Linked DNA regions of Homo sapiens: region 1 is linked to region 2. The links are contacts of gene promoters, found by promoter capture Hi-C in human tissues and cell types (Jung and others, 2019). All regions are on one chromosome and are shown on one strand. The core of a region is centred on a gene start or on the middle of the fragment in contact, and the rest is flanking DNA. Distances in the headings are between cores, read along the strand shown.

The links. Contacts are between HindIII fragments. The study calls those that stand out against the background at their distance.
Region 1: a contact is called between a fragment that was not itself captured here and the fragment with the promoter of BPIFA1 in region 2, in 1 of the 25 tissues and cell types used here (spleen).

Annotation. Positions count from the first base shown.
Region 1 is chr20:33,193,682-33,197,997 of GRCh38, reverse strand. It overlaps the pseudogene BPIFA4P. Among named protein-coding and RNA genes, the nearest start is that of BPIFA3, 22 kb to the left of the region's middle. The HindIII fragment of the contact is 4,694 bases long and covers 12-4,316 here.
Region 2 is chr20:33,232,928-33,237,436 of GRCh38, reverse strand. It overlaps BPIFA1 (BPI fold containing family A member 1), which reads right to left and starts at 1,441. Exons shown (of 9, transcript NM_130852.3): 1 at 1,387-1,441. The HindIII fragment of the contact is 6,820 bases long and covers 1-4,509 here.

The DNA of each region.
Region 1 (4,316 bases), core at 1,109-3,608, 40 kb after region 2:
AGTCACTTGCCCAAGGCCACACAACCTGTATTTATGCCCAAAAGCTGGACATACGGTTTTTCCCGCAGGGACACTGCCTTCCCCAGCAGGGCTGCTCATGGCTGCTGCGAGAGGCTGCATAATGTTAGAGTTATGACAATGGTCTCTGAAGACCCCCACCTGTTAGCAGCTGTGGGATTGTGGGATTTAGTGCAAGTTGCTTCACCACACGATGTTATGCAGGACACACTATCCTCATTTTACAGCAAAATGGTGGTGGTGATATGCCCTGGCTTCAGAGACAGACAGACCTGGGATGGAATCCCAGCTCTGCCACCTACTTGCTGGATACCTTAGGCTTTCCTCATCTGGAAGATGCAGAGGATCCAAACTCATACCTTCCTCTTGCTCTTGTCGTAAGCACTTAGCACAGTACCTTGCACATTGTAAGTGCTTCACAAATGGTCACCACTGTACTAATGCATCATTATGATCATGATTTTCACTTGACATTTTCAAGGGCTTACCTCCCTGAGCTGATGGGAGAGAGTAGGCTCCACAGCACAGACAAGAAGGGCCCAGGCTGAGGGACCAGGGCTGGAGTATGTGGACACTGTAGGACCATTTACTGTGCCCGCTTGAATGGCACACTCCCTGGGCTAGGAGTGGCCCTCGGGATCTTGACACACCCTCCACACCTCCTGGAAAGGAGGTGCATGAAGATGTTCGTGTGGCTTCCTGGGACTTCAACCAAATGCCAGTGCAAATGGTCCCATTAGGACCTGAGACTAACAGGTAAAGGCTGGTAGGGACCGATTCTCTCCTTCGACACTTGACAGATTCCAAGCAGACTCTCAGCCCAGTCCCTGGTCACTATTCTCATGTAAATTCATAACCCATTTGGTTTAGCATTTTATTTTATTTTATTTATTTATTTATTTATTTTGAGACAGAGTTTCACTCTGTTTCCCAGGCTGGAGTGCGGTGTGGTGTGATCTCGGCTCACTGCAACCTCCGCCTCTTGGTATCAAGCAATTCTCCTGCCTCGCCTCCCAAGTAGCTGGGATCACAGGCATCCACCACCACGCTCAGCTAATTTTTTCATATTTTTGGTAGAGACGGGGTTTCACCATGTTGGCCAGGCTGGTTTCGAACTCCTGACCTCAGGTGATCCATCCGACTTGGCCTCCCAAAGTGCTAGGATTACAGGCGTGAGCCACCGCAACTGGCCTGGCTTAACATTTTAATTTGGGTGATCTGTTTTTAGGCAAGTAGAAAAATTAGAAAGTGAAGATATGCACAAAGAGAAAAAAGTAAATAAAAATCAGTTCACAGAGATAACTTCTGTTGTATCTTTTTTTGGAAGTTTTTCTTTCCATAGGCGTGCATTCATGTAACATGATGAGAAACAAGGATTGGCCTGTCATGCTTCTACAGAAGCATTTATTCAAGTAGCAGTACATCAGGACTGTCTACCTCCTTGTCTGCAGAATTTTCTAAGGTATGTATTGACTGATGTTCATGGAATGTCTCCTCTTTTGGGCTATTTTCATGTTTTTACCCCAGATGGCACCGGCAGGAATATCCTTAGGTGTTTTTCTGCATTTACCTGCCACATTATAACCCACGAAGCATTTTCTAGGAATAACCAACCCTGAAGTTCTTTTTGTTTGTTTGTGTGTGTGTTTTATTTGTTTGTTTGTTTTGTGTGTTTGTTTGTTTGTGTGTTTATGTGTGTGTGTGTGGTGTCTTGTTTTGTTTTGTTTTTGAGATGGAGTTTCGCTCTGTCACCAAGGCTGGAGTGCAGTGGCGCAATCTCAGCTCACTGCAACCTCTGCGCAAGCCACCACACCCGACTAATTTTTTTTTTTTAATTTTAGTAGAGACGGGGTTTCACCGTGTTGCCCAGGCTGGTCGTGAACTCCTAAGCTCAGGTAATCTGCCCGCGTCAGCCTCCCAAAGTACTGGGATTACAGGCGTGAGCCACCGCGCCCAGCCTGTTTTTATAAGTATCGAAGCATTCTCTGTGTTCATCCTTCTCACCCTATCCCTGAACCCCAAATGAGGGGTTGCACAGTCCCTATGAAATCTAAGTTCAAGTTCCATCTGCAGAGTTCTGGTTTTGATCATGACAGAGTATCTTGCATCAGACTAACACTCCCAATTAAAGTCAACTATAAGAGATGGAAATCTGTAAAAACAAAGGAGGACATCCATGAGCAACTACATGGGCACAATTTGAAACCCCGTGATTCTTGAGAAAGAGGCATCATTCAAGGCGGGCTCCATATTCACCCAGCTTTTGCCTGAGGTCATTTTCCAACATGTCAACCAGGGTCCAAGCAAAAAGAGCTAGTCTTACAGGGATGAGGGGACAGAAGTTGGAATTTGGGGCTACCAGAGTGGCTGGGACTTGAGGGGCAAAAATCCCAAAGAGGAAGTTCCCCAGGGAAGGAGCCTTGAAATCTCAGCTTTTTAAGCTGCACCCTAGCAGTGTGGGACTCTCAGCCATGTGGCAGAAAATAGCAGGTGAAAGTTAAAAAGCTGAACAGAGACATCAGCACATCCACTGTGTGATGCTGGGGAAGGAAGCGCTAGTTTGAGGTGGGGCCCCTTTGATGGGAGGAACCTTGGTACACATCTTAAGCTCTCAGTGAAGACATAAAGCACTGTGCTCTAGGAGAAAGGGCCACACCCTAGAAATAGTCTCCCTCTAAAAGTAAGAACAAGACCAAAATAGTTCTACTTAATAAAACACAAAGCTAAGCCTAGGCAGGGTCATGATCCATTTCTGCTCTATCTTTCTGCCATCTTCGTTTCTGGAAAAAAGATAATGTCATTTCACCACCATGTTCAGCATCCAATAAAAATTTACAAGGCATGCATGCTTAAAAAATGACCAAGGGACTAAAGGCCAAGAAATTAAAATATATGATATAATAAACCCACAGGCAAGTCAAATATTCAAATATTGAGCAGACAACAGGGCAAGAAACCAACAGAGGATAAGGAGGCCCGAGACCTTCAGCATCTTGGGGCAGTACCCGTGGGATACCAGGTAAGTACAGTCAGCTTCAGGGTCACTCTGAGAGGTTCTCTATGGAGCTAAAGGAGATAGGGGGGAAGCAAAGGAGTCATTTGGACTCATTCTTACCCACCCAACACCCATTTTTTTTTTTTGAGATGGAGTCTTGCTCTGTCACCCAGGCTGGAGTCAGTGGCACGATCTCGGTTCACTGCAACCTCTGCCTCCTGGGTTCAAGCGATTCTCCTGCCTCAACCTCCCGAGTAGCTGGGACTACAGGTGTGCTCCATCATGCCCAGCTACTTTTTGTGTTTTTAGTAGAGACAGGTTTCACCATATTGGCCAGGCTGATCTCAAACTCCTGACCTCGTGATCCTCCCACCTCCGCCTCCCAAAGTGCTGGGATTACAGGCATAAGCCACCGCACCTGGCCCAATACCCATTTTACAGATGGCACACTGAGGCTCGGATCAGGGTTAAGTTTTCCTAAGGCCAGCTGTAGTTAGTGGCTAGCACCTGGCTCTCCCGTCTTTTAGTTTTTTATACTTTAATCTGCATCTCACTCAAAAAGGTTACTAGGAGAATTCAGGAAGCATTTTGAAAATTGTTTAGCCTAGTGCCACTAAATAGAAGTTAATTTTGGATTTGCAATTAAAGTTCCTTTTTATCCCTCCCTGGTTCTGACAGTGAGTACCCTTGGAAGACTCACAGACAGTCTGAAGGAGGGGAGGGTGGCCAGGGAGCATCTTTCCTGCTGGGTGTTGGAGGAGTCCCCCAATTCCTTACAACATCCCAATCTTATGAGACAGTTATTGACATGCTTCCTTTACAGAGCAGGAAACGGAAGCTTGGAGAGCCGAGGGCACATGCCCATTCTTCCCTCTTTATTTACAGAATCCTTTTATTTTTGAGGGAAGAAATGTGCTTAACAAAGAAATTATCTTTCCCAACCTTCTTTGCAACCAGGCATGATCAATGAGATATAAATGGAAATTGTAGGTCGGGGCTTCTTAAAAACTTCTCTAGAGTGGCTGACCCAGCTGCAAATTGCATGCTTTTGTTTTCCTCTCCTGCTTTTTCCTGATTACATATAAGATATGACGACTGGAGCCCAGCAGTTATCTTACTAGCAGGAAGATGAAAGCCACATCCTAGGGGTAGCCAAGGAAGGAGATGGCAGGCTCTGCCAGCCTAACTCTGGGCTTCTCATCATGATTGAAGCCACGATTTTTCATGTTCTGTGCTAGAACCAAACACAATTGGTAATAACTGGTAACATGTATCAAAAGCTTTAGTCTGGTTCAGCATCTGA
Region 2 (4,509 bases), core at 192-2,691:
AAAAGGAGACAGCCCCACTCCACCACATTCCAAAGAAGAGGGTTTTTTTCCTTCTTGCCAAGAATCCCAGCCTCACCTCACTCCATCTTGCCCACAGTTCACTTGTCTGATTTTCCAGTAGGAGAAACCAAGGCTCACAGAGGTCAAGTGAGTTTGCAGTTGGGAGTTTCAAATATACTCCCATCCCTTCTTGAAACCCACTTGTGTACTACCGAGTGTGGGTAACTTTCCCCAAGGTCACAAGTACACGGTGGACAGAGGATTAGAAGCTAGAGCCAGGTGAACCCTCGGTTAAATTAAGTAACCATCAGATTTATTCTCCAATCGGGCTTGCTTCAATGGTTTGAATCATTGCTGCTCTTCAGACAAAGCAAATGAGAAGGGTTAAACGTGCAAGTGCTGAAGAATTGAACTGTTTTAGATCATCCCTGTTCAGTCCTTTGGCCTGAGCTCAGGCCATGATGGTTGGTGGATGCCCTTGAAAGTCACACAATACAGGGGTCGCATGGCCACAGCCACCATCTCATGTAGACCTTTGTTGGGGAATTCCTGGGGCCATCAAAGTCTTCATTGCATGAGAAGAACCAGGAGACCAAAGAGGGGTAGTGACTTTCCCAAGGTCATACAATAAATTGATGGCAGAGCTGTGGTTGAAGGCAGGTCTCCCAACCCTCCCCTCACCCAACACACAAACATGCATTCTATCATTTTGACACCTTTCTCTTCTCCTTCAAGCTGCCCTGGATGGAATTCCGGTCAACCCCTGAGGTTTGGCTTGCAGACCTCTCACAGGTCTATTTGGCAGCCAGCAGAGTTGTCCAGAGCCAGCACTAGTACCTACAATTTGGAGACAACTGGTGACTTTGTGCAAAATTCCATCTATTGGCTGACTCAGCTAAAGCTCCATCCTTGTGGTGGAAGGCTGGAAATGAAAGGTCTTTGGTCCAAAGAGCCAGTTGTGCCCTTCTTAGGGAGGTAACTTTGACCACAGCCTCTGAATCTCTTTTGGGCAACAGACCCTTTATGAATCCAATGGAAGCTAAAGATCCTAGTCTCAGAAAAAATGCATCAAAATGTATAAAATTGGGTGAAGAATTTTAGGAGGTTTTTGGATCATCTGTATCCACATTGGTAACCTCAAGCTAAAACTTATGCCTTAGAGGCTTTCATTTACGGCATTAATAGTGCCCATTTCTATATCAATGTTACTGGTCTCTTAGGACAGCAGAGCAAATGGCCATCCCCACATCCCTGACATTGGCCAGGTCTGTTTCTCTTGCACAGCCCCCAGTGAGTGATCAAGATCACTCACTGCCCCACAGGGCAGGAGCCTGAGATCCCTGCCGTTAAGGGTAGCAGAGGGGCCACAGAATGGATGGCTCTTACCTGGACTTCTTAGAGGTCTCAGCAGCTGTCCTGGTCTCCTCTCTCTCCCCCACTCACTTCTGCCGAGGAGTCAGCCTCTTTTATAGTATGGGGACGAGGAAGCATGTGTTGGGTGATGGGTTTCTAGATAATTGAGAATTCTGCAATCTGACAGTGTCTTTCAGGGCTCTCCAAAGTAAATAATTGCCAATCACATTAGCAGGTGAGACAGTTAAGCTATTTGGTCAACAAGATAAACAGAGAAAAACCTGAGATGGGATGTTACTCAAGACTTTATGGTTTCCTGAGCGGAGCCAAGGTTGGGGACCCACGCTCCCAAGGTAGCTTGGAGCATTGAAAGGAGCAGCCAGACAGAGCCCAGGAAGGGACCTCAGTCTCATCTCTTGGCCCCTTTCCTCTCCTGCTCTAATTTTTTTGCTCCAGTTGGAGGATTCTTTCTCCTAAAATGTCAAAAGAGTCACACTGCATCCTACATCTGGGGTGCGTCTCCATTCCAGGGCAAGGGTCTCCTGTTTTCAGAGCCCCTATTGCACGTCAGGAGCTCTCTGTCCTCACAAGAACCCTGAGAGGGAGAGGTGACTCCTCCTCTTTTATAGAGGAGGAAACTGAGATCCAGTGGGGACAAGTGCTGAAAGACCCAGAGAGGATGCAGCAGAGTTAGAATGCAACTGACTGGAGAATGAAAACAACAAAAACAACGCCAACAGCAGACACTGGCCGAGCTCCTGCTGTATGCCTGGCCTGCCATGGTGTTCACAGGCAGCATCTCACAAAATCCTCACAACCCTGTACTCCTATTCTATAAGGGGGAAACTGAGGCTGAGTGTGAGGCAAGTTGTCCAGAGATGCAGTGCTTGCCTGGGGTGAGACATCCACATTCAGGTCCTTTCCCCGAATCACTGCACTGAGAGATGAAGGTGCCTCCCAACACTTGCTGGCCATTTTGATTTCCCCACCTGTGAACTTTACACTTTCATGCGTCCCTTTTTATTTTTTAAATTTTCACTTAATTTTTATTTTATTTTATTTTTTGAGACAGTCTTACTCTGTCGCCCAGGCTAGAGTGCAGTGGTGTGATCTCAGCTCATGACAACCTCCACCTCCCGGGTTCAAGTGATTCTCCTGCCTCAGCCTCCTGAGCAGCTGGGACTACAGGCGAGCGCCACCATGCCTGGCAAAGTTTTTGTATTTTTAGTAGAGATGGGGTTTCACCATGTTGGCCAGGCTGTCCTCGAACTCCTGACCTCAGGTGATCCACCTATCTCAGCCTCCCAAAGTGCTGGGATTACAGGCGTGAGCCACAGTGCCCCGCCGCTTCTCTTTTAGGTCCTGGAAAAGTCTTTCCAGGTTCCCAGGCCTGAGGGATCCTTTGGCATCCTGGTCTCTATCCTACCCTTTCTTCTACCTTTCCCTAAATGGAGTAATCAGGCATTTATTTATCCCCACCACTGGGGCCCTTGGAGTCTGTTCAGCAGATGAAAAAGTGAAGACACAGGAAGGCCAAGGTCCTGGACCAGTGAGCGCAGCTCTTACCCTGCAAAACCTAACACCTTATAAGCAAAAGTGGAGAGAGAAGGAATAAATGTGCTTTTATTAAGCACTGACTGCATGCCAGGTGCTCTCCATATTTGAACCTCATCTTCTTCAGGAGTGGTTGGTATTGTTGTCTCTCATACATTGGATGAGGAGGCTGAGGATCAGAAAGGGTGACTGCTTCCTGGGGACACACAGCGAGTGAGTGTTGGAGTCAATTGACCCTGCCACCCTCTGTGTCTGTCTGAGTCCCTGCTAATCAGTGGGCCACACTGCCTCCCTCACACTAGGCCTTCACTGGCCTGCTCCACTGCTCTCCAGAGTCTGGGTGGTGCCCCCAAGGGTTTGGGGCCATGGCTTTGAACTTAATTATCCATTCAAGGTACTTGCTGGACTCTGCCCACATCTTGTACATGGCAATCATCCTCACAGTGGTCCCATCGTATAACTCTTGTGGGTTGGGTCAGGTTGCTACTATCCTTGTGGGGAAACTGAGGCAGATAAGGCAAGGAATTAGTAGAGTTTGTGCAGCCAGTTAATGAAAGCTTACACCCTCTGGTTTGAGGCCGGGAGGCTGTGTCTGTATTGCAGCAGAAAGTGGGTGAATTTGGGCTCAAACAGCCCTGGTTCAAATCCTACGACCCTGGGCAAGTCAGTCCAGTTCCCTGAACTTCATTCAGTTTCCTCACCTGTAAAATGGGGAGCATAAAATCTGCCTCACAGGGCTATGGGGAGATGATGTCTGGGGAGCTGGTATGAATCACAGTTCATAAACTCAGGCGTCCACACATCTTTCTGATTTATCTATACTTTACCATTTCAAATGCCATTTTGCTCAGGAACAGAAATGTCCCAATTTCCCCCTGGGGTTTCATGTCTGTGCTAGGGGCTTTGTTTGTACCAAGGAGGCTGCCTGTCCCTATTTTTGGCTGGCAATATAGGAGACAGCCATGTGCCATCTGCCCCTAGATTGCAGAGACACTGTACTTCCCTCCTGGTGAAAGGTCCCTTTGGATTTAGCATTTACTTTCAACTCGTTTGTAAGACACAGAATTGTTCTGCTGTTCGCCAGTTCCTTGGGCCTGATACAGGACTGTGAGGGGCTGCCCAAGCCCTCCTGCCTGGATCCACCTAGACCCTCCCTTTACCCTTCTCTCCCTGGGGTCTCATGCCCTCTTCTGGCTCTGGGAGGGAGTGTGGACACAGACGCCCTCTGTCCCTGGATCCCATACATGTGCCTGGGATTCTGTTCCCTTCATCCCATGCTCAGGTCTGCCTGGGAGCAGCAAGGGACGGAGGCACCATCAGAACCCACCAGAACTATGCTCCTTCCAGTTCTCCTGGACCCTCACACTTCACCAACCCAACATAGGGCATTTTCTAGTTTTGTGGGCAGGAAGATTTGCTTCAACTTCATTGTGTGTATGCTGTTCTCAGACTCTCCTATGCCCTGAGTTTAACAAGTCAAAAGCCAAGACTATAAAAACAAAAAAACTTACAGTAAAATTGACTTCTTTTAGTGGTATGGTCCTTTGAGTCTTACCACATGTATAGTCAGCCACCATCATAATCAGGGTAAAGAACAGTTCC